Regions from separate parts of the Homo sapiens genome. Here all the other regions are linked to region 2. Evidence: promoter capture Hi-C in 16 types of primary human blood cells and fetal thymus (Javierre and others, 2016). All regions are on one chromosome and are shown on one strand. The core of a region is centred on a gene start or on the middle of the fragment in contact, and the rest is flanking DNA. Distances in the headings are between cores, read along the strand shown.

Region 1 (2,700 bases), core at 104-2,603, 250 kb before region 2:
CGGGGTGGTCTGGTGAGGACTAGACTAGGAGTGTGGCTAATCAGGAGGCTGGTGGACACTAATAGAAAGGTAAGACGTCGAGTACCAGAAGAGCTCATTAATATACAATTAAAGAGGTGACGCAGGTCCTATAAGATGTGGGAGAAGGGAAGTTCCATTTTAAGAAGTGAGCTGAGGAATAGGAGACACGAGGCCTGTGTGGTCTAGGCAGACAGTCTAGAAGGTCAACGTCTGCAGGAACTGCATGAACAAGCAGGGTGAAACCAAAGCTGCAGTCTAATCTTAGGGCAAAAGTGATTTCCCCATTTTATACTGCTCTCTGGAATTGGACAGCCTTAGGTCCAAATCTACTTATGACATTCAGAAGGAAATAAAAAACCTGAGGTAACTCCACCTTCTCCACAGATTTAAATCCTGTGTTGGATGCTGAAGAAAAGCTACATATCTCTCCCCTACTAGACTTTCCTCAAAATTCAGTTCCACATAGTACTGAATACTTTATTTATTGATTTATTTAGAGATAGGTCTTGCTATGTTGCCCAAGCTGGACTCAAACTCCTGGGCTCAAATGATCCTCTTGCCCCAGCCTCCTGAGTAGCTGGGACTCTGTGCCAGCACACCTGGAGCTGATATTTTTCCTTTCATATCTCATGAAAATAACCTTGGGTTAGAAGCTTGTCCTTCCTTCATGACCAGGCCATACGTTTGGTTCCATTATCAAAGTGAAAGCCATCTCCTTTCCATCCTCCTAAGCAAGAAAATCTCCCTTATATGTCAGTAAAAGTACCAAGCACCTACATTCTTTCTAATTCTCGCCTGCTATCAAGAAAGTATAAAACGAACAATAGTGGGGAGAGAAAAGGTGACGAAGAGAGGGAGGTAGTTTAAGTTGTGCTGATTTCATTATTTTAATAGCCAGGGATGGAAATAAATCATCTAAAGATGATAAATCAAGTACGTGGCAAAAACCGCAATTACTTTTGCACCAACCTAATAGAATAAGTATATTTAGAAACGCAAAGATAAAGGCCAGGCGTGGTGGTTCACGCCTATAATCCTAGCACTTTGGGAGGCCTAAGTGGGTGGATCACTTGAGGCCAGGAGTTCAAGACCAGCCTGGCCAACATGGTGAAACCATGTCTCTACAAAAAAAAAAAAAAAAAAAAAAGCGAAGATAAATACTAAGAACAGCAGAAAAAGGGAAGTGATAGTGTGCTAATTTTGTCAGTGTTCATAGTATGGAGTCAACTGGTTTTGCTTGAAGAAAGAGGATTAGGTTTATTATATAAACTTGTAGTTATAAGGTAACCACTAGAACAAAAATTTATTTCCCTATAAACTATTAGGAAACACACACATGCAAACACAAAGAAAATACAGTCCAGTAGAGAAGTGTTCAAAAAGTAACAACAACAACAAAAACCCAGAAAATATCATACAAAATTTGATACAGAATTAAGACCAAACTTATATGTATATGGGCTAAATTCACTGTGACAGACACTGTTGCTTACTCAACAGCCATTTCCCTGCTCCTGCCCCACTGCCTTATTTTGTCTGGGGAATGTACCCAGCCCTAGCAGATGAGTCATTATTAGCTAAGCCAGTCATAGCCATTCTGTGTCCTTCTGTCAGCCTTCCTTACATCTAAGAGTAGTCAGTTATATGGCAAAGAGATTTGAGGGGAAGTCTACTACAGGGCTACTGGGAAAGGTAATCTTTCGCCTGATAAGAGTAGCCCCAGAAGGATAAAGACTTTTACCCTGACTACCCTGTTTTCTGCCTTTGAACTGTGATGTTGGGAGCTGTGGCAGCCATTTTGAATTTATGAGTTAACAAGAATAAGGACTGGCAGAGCAGAAGGAAGGAGCCTAAGATCTGCTGACATTGTTGAGCTCCTGAATGAATGCCAGCTACCAAGTTGCAGCATGACTCATATCTTTACTTCCAACTTTCATTTCTTTCTTCAGGCTTATATTACTAAGAGGTCATGACTAATCTCACTTAACGAAGTATTCCTGTCAAAGCTTTTAGCCATTTGCCTTTGCAGACAGTTTAGACATTTTACTTGGAGCAGAGAATAGTTGATTTTGTGCTAAAAGTCTTCCTAGCAGAGACTCTTCCTGGCTTCAGATGATATCAATGACCTTAATGTTCAGCTTGTGGCATAGAATTCCAGAACTCTGGAAACAGCAATGCAACAACAGAAAATGATTCGGGAAAGAGCTTCTTTAAGGTCACACACATGGATTTCGTAAACGGCCCAGATTGTCTTTAGTTCTTTGTTATTTCTTTTGTTTTACAGATGCTTGAGCTTTTGTTAGTGAATAAGTATTACTATTGCTTGGTATCTTTTACCGAATTCGTATGAAATTCTTATGAATTTTTGCCTGTATGAAATTCATAATCTTACCAATGGGTTTTCTTTCTCTCCTCAAGCTTTCCTTCCATTCCCTTACTTCACATTCAATGAATTTCTTGTGTATGCCACTACCAAGTCTCAAGCTCCTACAATTATTCTAATTTCTACTTCTGTGTATTGGTACGCCATCTCTCCACCTTGCCTCCTCCCTCTCTGGGAGTCTTATCCCCCTCCTTTCTAAAATAAATTCATCTAAGGTGTTCCCAACCATCCTAGGCAAACCTTCAGAGGACTTCACTTCTACTTGGTCTTCCTTTATTCTCCCACTTCATTGGTTC
Region 2 (2,700 bases), core at 123-2,622:
CATACTTATTTGCTTAGATATTATGTTTGTTGTTTAGAGTTCTGATCTCTCTTCTGCTCCCCTTCCACCCCATGTGAGCTCCATAAGGGCAGAATCCTTCTTTCGTTTAACTGAGGTATCCCAAGCACCTCCAACAGTGCAGGGCATACAGCAGGTGCTCAGTAAACAGCTGATGGATGAATGAGTGCTAAGACTCTCTTGTACTCGTAGGGATCGCTGGATGCATTCCTTCAGAGGGAGAGCTTTGAAGGACACGGTAAAAAATTTCACTGCGTTGACTCCAGGTTTAATAATATAATATTAGAAGGAAGAAACTACTTTCTTAGTTTTCTTCTTACTCTATTCTTCCCATTTAATGGCCCTCCACCCCTTACTCCCAATTCTCCAGTGTTCTCTATGCAATGGCCAATAGCAGCATTTATCCATTTAGGGTGAAAACCTGGAGAACGCTCCTGGATTTCTCTCTTCCCCTGCACAAAACCCAAATCTTTCTACAGTTCTCTCCGTTTCCGATCCCATGATTCTGGCCAGGGGCCCTCACTACCAGCCTTCTCAAGGGCCGCTGAAGCAGCCTCCTGCGTGGGCTCCCTGCAGCTGCGGAGATATTTCAGCTACTCTGAAGGGCCACACGTGCTCTCACTTCCCTGACACCCCTCCCCTTTCTCCCCGCCCCTCCACGGTTAGGCTTGTTGACCATAACAAGCAGCTCGCTTGTATTAGGCGCTCACGTTCTGCCTCCCCTACTGGGCAGTGCATAACTTGATGAGGCTTGAGGGCAGGGGTCGTGTCCCTAGTGCCCGGCTCAAAGTGGAAGCTCCAAACTTATTTGTCGGTCGTCTCCCTTGTTGCTCTGACTTTCCACTTTGTATACCCTGGGGAACTGAGCACAGGAGGGAGGCGACGCGGCTGGTGTCACTTTGGGGTAAAGCCCCCTCTGCTCCCCGCCGTGTCCCCGGCCAGCTCTGGCCCCCTGCATCCGGGCTCTCTCACCTTGGCGGAGACCTCCCTCCAGCGGCAGAAAGCCTCGTAGGCAGCGCGCACGGCGGCGCGGGCCTCTCGCACCCCGCAGTCGGCTACCATGCCCAGAGCGGCGCCGCTGGCCGGGTCTTGCACGGGGAAGGTGGCGGCGGCCGGGAGCCAGCGGCCGCCCACGAAGCTGTCGGTGCGCAGCAGCGCCGCAGAGAGGCCCGCCAGGCGCCCAGCGTAGCAGCGGAGCTGGGCCGGGCCGGGCGCAGGCCCGGAGGCAGGGACCAGGCCGCCGGCGCGGGGGCGGAGGCGGCAGCCTGGAAACGTCGACCCGAGGCGCCGGGCCCCACAGCTCCGCAGCCAAATGCAGGTCGCCATGGCCCGGGCAACGACGGCGACAGGAAACAGGCAAGCGGGCGCGCGCGCACGGGAACGCAGGGGTCGCGGGGAAGCAAGAGGAGCGAGGAGGCGCCGGGGACGCGCGGGGAAAGCGTGGGAGCTGGCGGAAGGTTGCAGAGCCACAGAGCAGCGCCCTCTCTCCGCGTCTTTCTCGCTGCACCGCCGCGCCGCCCTCTGCACCTTGCCCTAAGCGCCGCGCGGCTTCTCTCCTGGCGCGACCTTCTCCCGGGGGAGGGTTGGGTTCGGGGATGGAGAAGGCTCGCCAGTAGATGCACCTGCGGACTGCTGTCACCTTTTCACTTTTCGGGTGCTCATTTGTCACTAACTGCTCCTGAGCCCCCAATCGCTGCTAGAGACCCACTCTCTCCCCTTAGCATCCCCCAAATTCGGCATCCCCGGAATTTGTGCGCGGTCCATAGATGCGCTGGTGCCTGCCCTAAATGCCAAGGCCGTGATCACGCTTCTTCAGTTGTAGCTCCTGAGCACGTAGTATTGATTGGGAGCGATCGTTCTCTGAGGGGTCGAAGTGTGACCCCGCGTTCTGCTGCCTGGCTGCTTTTTTGGGTGTGTGTCTAGGCATTCTCCTAGGGTTGCTCCCGATAAATAACAGCGCTTTGGAAATAAACAGACTAGGATCCAAACTCAAGTCTGTTGCCGACAAGCTGTGTGACCGACAGGTTAACCTTAGTCCAGTCACTTATAAAATAGAACCATATCTACCCCATTTTGTTGTGAGATAACGTAAAATGCTCATTACAGTTGCCACATTAAATTCAATATAGCGTTCAAAGTCATACTAGCTACCCTAGTCAAGCCACTAGTAAGATTAAAGTTGGGTCACCAACTAGTAAATGGAAGCATTTGTCAAAATTGAATCAACCAAGGTATAAGGATTGAGCATACTATCCAACCAAGGTATTTGAGCACCTTTAAACAGCATTCTTCATCCGTTAAAAAATTAGACTTGGGCTTAAGACTCTGAAAGCAGCAGGGAAGCTTAAAACCTAATGAGGATAAAAATAAAAATAGCAGGCGTATGCTGGGAATTTGTGGGTGCAAATGAAGCCCAGCCCTATGCATTGATTTTAGGTTACATATCTCCCTTTCTCAACTCCTACAGCGTTGAGAGTATCTTGCTAGCTTTCACCTTTTTCTAGGACGTTGAATTTTTTTCTAGGACATTTGCAAAATGCCGAGGCAGTAACTTTAAATTTTGACTTTGTCTTTTGCTGAGTCAGATCCATTGAGTTTTGAGCCAGTCACATATGGCAGAAGTGATAACAGTAGAGTTTAATCAATTTCACACTATTTTGCTCTGTATTTTATTGCAGGAAC
Region 3 (2,700 bases), core at 193-2,692, 230 kb before region 2:
AGTGTTCAAACGAAAAGTGTACTGGTACTGTGTATGCTTATATATGTATATATTTGCACATAGGCTTATATATATACTAACATGTCTTATTACTGGACAAAGAATTAATGGACGTCCATAATTATAGTATACTTACATGATTTTAGATAAGTGGAATTACCTTACCTGTGGAAAAAATTGTTATACATGTATATATCTTTCCCATTCCTTTCCAACACCTAATCTTTGTGGAATAGAGAATGGAATGTGTTCTGGGAAGGGAGGAAAAAAATTCTAAAACATTTAAACTTTCCTTCATATGTTAATTGCTCAAATTTGCCTTCTTTGTATGTGGGAATAGGGTAAGAAGAGTGGCACGAACTCTATAATATTTTAACATTTTCTTTCTAAGGATGATGATGGAGTTCTAACAAAAGTGTCAGAAGGTTGCTTTTTCAATTTATCTACTATAACCTTCCTAGACACGTTAAATGGAATAGTAAGAGCATTTTGAATTGTGGGAGTGACATCTGGAATCTAGAAAAATATTTGAAATGAAATTAGGAAGTAGTCAAGAAGCAAAAGTCAGTGAGAGCCCGGGGTTAAGGAAAACTAAATAGAAGTGTGTTTGATAACAAATTGAGACTAACAGGCAAAGATAATGGGTAAAAAATATTCCTTATTAAATGGTACCAGCAGATTTGTTTGGACAGCAATCTGTATAGCTTTAACCCAAAGTGTAAACAAAAGGTGTCTAATTAGTATTTTCTGATAATGCTGGTGGGCATAAAGCATGAGAAGTGGAAAAGAAAAAAAGAAAGGCAGGCGAGAGAAAAAAAAGGAACAGGGGAAAGAAGAAGTTAATAAATAAAGAAAATACATGGTGGGATAGACGTACTCACTTGAAAATGCCTCTGGTTCTTAACCCTGTCCCAAGCTCCAGGACAATGGCTGCTACCTGGCCAAATCTTATTTTTCTTTTTTCTTTTTCTTTCTTTTTTTTTATTTTGAGACGGAGTTTTGCTCTTGTTGCCCAGGCTGGAGGGCAATGGCTCGATCTCGGCTCACTGCAACCTCCGCCTCCTGGGTTCAAGAGATTCTCCTGCCTCAGGCCCCCGAGTAGCTGGGATTACAGGAGTCCACCATCACACCTGGCTAATTTTGTATTTTTAAAAGAGGCAGGGTTTCACCATGTTGTCCAGGCTGGTCTGGAATGCCTGACCTCAGGTGATCCACCCGCCTCAGTCTCCCAAAGTGCTGGGATTACAGGCTAGAGACACTGCACCCGGCTCAAATCTCATTTTTCAAGCCTACAACTTGTTTTAGGCCTTCAATAAATATTCAACGATCAGCCTGCAAATAAGCACTGACCTCTATAGTTTGGGCTAACATGAAATAAGGGTGAGACTAAAGAAGAAACTACCAAGCTATCCCCTGATCCTCCTAAAAAGGGTAAGAATAGCTCTCAAAACAAACATAGTTTCTCCTCTTAATACCCTTTTGGTTTCATAACCATGCAGCTCTGCTGTAGATGCGAGGTCTGTATGTGCTAGAGTACATATTGTGAAAATCCCCATTGGATTATGAAATTTTATTAACACATAATATCATAATTATCTTAGATGATAAATCTGTAGAGTTGAAATCTGGAGACAAGATCCTTGGTGTGGCTGCTTTCAGGATCAAACTGTAGAGCAATAGAACTTGTTCTCAAGACCTGTAGAGTCTAACCATAAACTTGTTCTGCTGTAGACGTTTATCATGCTTATTGAACTGTTAATCATAAATATGGCCAAAATTCAAGGCCCATGTCTGACAAATTTCATAGCACTAATGAAGGGACAAGATGTTTGAGAACCCTGAGAAGTCTAATATGCTTGAGCATGTTGAGAAAACTAGATTTCTGTAAAAGAAGAGCATGTGTGTACAGACAATGTATGTTTTAAAGGTAAAAGAAAAGGCTGGCTCTTTTTAGAAAAGTGAAGGCCAATTGTTAAATACTTTATTGTTTATCTTATTGTCATTTATTTAGGCTACACAAGCACAGGTTTGAGAAATCATTTCCTAACTTGCTATAAATGTCAGAGACTGGGATTATCCGAGGTTGTCCTTCTTTAAAGATTGGAAGTTAACACAGGAGCCCGCCCAAGCTGGCCTGCATTGTGTTTCTTCAGAAAGGAGGCTCGCACAGAATCTCTATAAGGTGTTATTTCATTAAAATGTAACCTTTGCAGTGATATCTGCATTTCAACCAGGGAAATTTCAATGTATCTAGTGGTATAATTTAAAACTCCAAAAGGGAAGTTAAGCAGATATTTTTAGCCAAGGTGCCACCATCAAATCATCACTCCACAAATCCTATTGTGTTTGAAGCAGCCTAACCCTAAGTAAGCCATTTCTAACACAATGAAATGCATTTCTCCACAGTTAAAGAAGCTAAATCTTAAGTGAATGCTCTCTGACTTTTATCTGAATTTCATTGAGAAACGTTTGGTCACGGCTTTTAAAAATTTTAATTCCTTCGACTACCTTCTTATTTTATAGCCCTTTCAAGTTACAGAGAAAATTGAGCTAGCAGTGTTTTCGTCCTCCAGGGGACATTGCTGCTATTTCTTGGCTCATCTCATTAAGACCTAGCACAGTCCCATAACACAGTTTCATAGGATGTGCTCAGCTGTGACCAGGTGTCTCCAATTCTGTTTCACAGTAGCTGAAACTAAA
Region 4 (2,700 bases), core at 201-2,700, 180 kb before region 2:
AATTTACAAGAAAAAATCAAACAACCCCATCGAAAAGTGGGCAAAGGATATGAACAGACACTTCTCAAAATAAGACATTTATGCAGCCAACAGATACATGAAAAAATGCTCTTCATCACTGGCCATCAGAGAAATGCAAATCAAAACCACAATGAGATACCATCTCACACCAGTTAGAATGGTGATCATTAAAAAGTCAGGAAACAACAGGTGCTGGACAGGATGTGGAGAAATAGGAACACTTTTACACTGTTGGTGGGACTGTAAACTAGTTCAACCATTGTAGAAGACACTGGCAATTCCTCAAGGATCTACACCTAGAAATACCATTTGACCCAGCCATCCCATTACTGGGTATATACCCAAAGGATTATAAATCATGCTGCTGTAAAGACACATGCACATGTATGTTTACTGCAGCACTATTCACCATAGCAAAGACTTGGAACCAACACAAATGTCCATGAATGATAGACTGGAATAAGAAAATGTGGCACATATATACCATGGAATACTATGCAGCCATAAAAAAGGATGAGTTCATGTCCTTTGTAGGGACACGGATGAAGCTGGAAACCATCATTCTCAGCAAACTATTTCAAGGAAAGAAAACCAAACACCACATGTTCTCACTCATAGATGGGAACTGAACAATGAGAACACTTGGACACAGGGTGGGGAACATCACACACCGGGGCCTGTCGTGGGGTGGGGGGAGGGGGGAGGGATAGCATTAGGAGATATACCTAATGTAAATGATGAGTTAATGGGTGCAGCACACCAACATGGCACATGTATACATATGTAACAAACCTGCACGTTGCACACATGTACCCTAGAACTTAAAGTATAATAAGAAAATAAAAAAACAGTTGAACTCTAGGGCTGGGTGCACTGACTCATGCCTGTAATCCCAGCATTTTGGGAGGCCAAGGCAGTCAGATCACTTGAGGTCAGGAGTTTGAGACTAGCTTGGCCAACATGGTGAAACCCTGTCTCTACTAAATATACAAAAAATGAAAATTAGCCAGGCGTGGTGGCAGGCGCCTGTAATCCCACCTACTCAGGAGGCTGACGCAGGAGAATAACTTGAACACAGGAAGCAGACGCTGCACTCAGCTGAAATCACGCAACTGCACTCCAGCCTGGGTGACAGAATGAGACTCTATCTCAAAAAAACAAAAAAACAAACAAAACCCCCCAAAAACGGTGAACAAGTTTTGTCTAATTCAAAGCTTATTTAGGCCAGGGGCAGCGGCTCATGCCTGCAATCCCAGCACTTTGGGAGGCCGTGGCATGCAGATCACTTGAAGTCAGTTCAAGACCAGCTTGATCAACATGGTGAAACCCTGTCCCTACTATAAATATAAAATTAGTTGGGCATTGTGGTGCACGTGTAATCCCAGCGACTCGAGAGGCTGAGGCAGGAGAATCACTTGAACCCAGGAGGTGGAGGTTGCAGTGAGCCAAGATCGGGCCATTGCCTTCCAGCCTGGGTGCCAGAGCAAGACTCTGTCTCAGATAAAAAACAAACAAACAAAAAAAACCCCACAAAACTTATTTAAAGGTTATGTATACAACAAGGTAAAGGAATCAGGAAATAAGAGAGATGTTGTAAAGGAAGTTATAAAACAAATTTTTTTTGTATGTGGTAAGAAAGCTTAGAAATAATTTTACATGAGAAAGAATACTGTATGGTAAATTTAGTCCTAAGATAAAAGTTCAAGCATGTCATGAATGGTCTGTGTATGTCACAATAAGAGGATTTGTTTTAAAAAAATTGTATATGATCATGTTTACAATTAAAAGGAAATTATAATGCTCTTTCTAGAGACTGGGCTTCATGTTAAAAAAGACACATATACACGAAATTATTGGTTAGAAAAATAAACTTTTCTTAAGGGGTTAACTTACTCTTAATAAATTATAAGAGAATTTGCCTACGAATGGTGGCTTCTGCCTGTAATCCCAGCACTTTGGGAGGCCAAGACAGGTGGATCACTTGAGGTCAGGAGTTGTAGACTAGCCCGGCCAACGTAGTGACACCTCGTCTCTAACAAAAATACAAAAATTAGCCAGGCCTGGTGGCATGTGCCTGTAGTCCCAGCTACTTGGCAGGCTGAGGCACAAGAATTGCTTGAACCCAAGAGGCAGAGGCTGCAGTGAGCCAAGATTGCACCAGTGCACTCCAAACTGGGCAACAGTGCGAGACTCTATTTCAAAAAAAAAATTATAAGAGAATTTAATTTTTTTTTAAAACTGAAAGTTCAATTTTTATTGCATCTTGCCATTTTTTTTCAGCTTTCTCTCCCCTTTAAAAAGGCACACTGTCTTAAAGGTCTAAAGGAAGTGTTTTCTTCCAACATCATGTTCTGTGCATTGCAGAAGGTCTTTTCTTTTGCTTTTTGGTAACTGACCTAACAGAGTTTACATTTTGTTGAAATAATTCCTATGTTTAGGAAAAAACTGAGATTAAAAAAAGATTTTTTAATTAACATGATTACAACTGGGTATTTTCCTGTATGTGCTTTTAAAGTCCTTGTGACCTTAGGTTACAGGGCTTTGACTCCTGGGTCTAAAAAGGACACCAAGTCCTACTAAATCTTAAACACTGACAGCAATTGAAGCTGTCATCTTCAGGCCCCGTAGAAGACGCCAATCAAAATAAACTGCATTCCTGAGATACACGGCCAGAAATTA

What was found. Contacts are between HindIII fragments. The CHiCAGO score rates a contact against its expected background, and 5 or more counts as called.
Region 1: a contact is called between a fragment that was not itself captured here and the fragment with the promoter of ALDH5A1 in region 2, in 1 of 17 cell types (naive B cells). The highest score is 5.3, in naive B cells.
Region 3: a fragment that was not itself captured here is called in contact with the fragment with the promoter of ALDH5A1 in region 2 in 3 of 17 cell types (fetal thymus, naive CD4 T cells and naive CD8 T cells); the score reaches 7.6 in fetal thymus.
Region 4: a fragment that was not itself captured here is called in contact with the fragment with the promoter of ALDH5A1 in region 2 in 2 of 17 cell types (naive B cells and erythroblasts); the score reaches 6.3 in naive B cells.

The regions. Positions count from the first base shown.
Region 1 is chr6:24,742,657-24,745,356 of GRCh38, reverse strand. The region is part of intron 1 of LINC02828 (long intergenic non-protein coding RNA 2828); the gene reads right to left. Among named protein-coding and RNA genes, the nearest start is that of LINC02828, 1.7 kb to the right of the region's middle. RefSeq lists an enhancer at 1,743-1,832. The HindIII fragment of the contact is 1,353 bases long and covers 677-2,029 here.
Region 2 is chr6:24,493,641-24,496,340 of GRCh38, reverse strand. ALDH5A1 (aldehyde dehydrogenase 5 family member A1) reads right to left here and starts at 1,372. Exons shown (of 10, transcript NM_001080.3): 1 at 991-1,372. The coding sequence starts at 1,344. It also overlaps a transcript of GPLD1 not described here. RefSeq lists a silencer at 977-1,366. The HindIII fragment of the contact is 3,166 bases long and covers 1-2,363 here.
Region 3 is chr6:24,724,174-24,726,873 of GRCh38, reverse strand. No RefSeq gene overlaps it. Among named protein-coding and RNA genes, the nearest start is that of C6orf62, 6.4 kb to the right of the region's middle. The HindIII fragment of the contact is 4,468 bases long and covers 1-2,700 here.
Region 4 is chr6:24,672,899-24,675,598 of GRCh38, reverse strand. The region is part of intron 1 of ACOT13 (acyl-CoA thioesterase 13); the gene reads right to left. LOC124901279 (a long non-coding RNA gene) reads left to right here. Exons shown (of 2, transcript XR_007059509.1): 1 at 1-2,700. Among named protein-coding and RNA genes, the nearest start is that of ACOT13, 7.2 kb to the right of the region's middle. The HindIII fragment of the contact is 425 bases long and covers 1,238-1,662 here.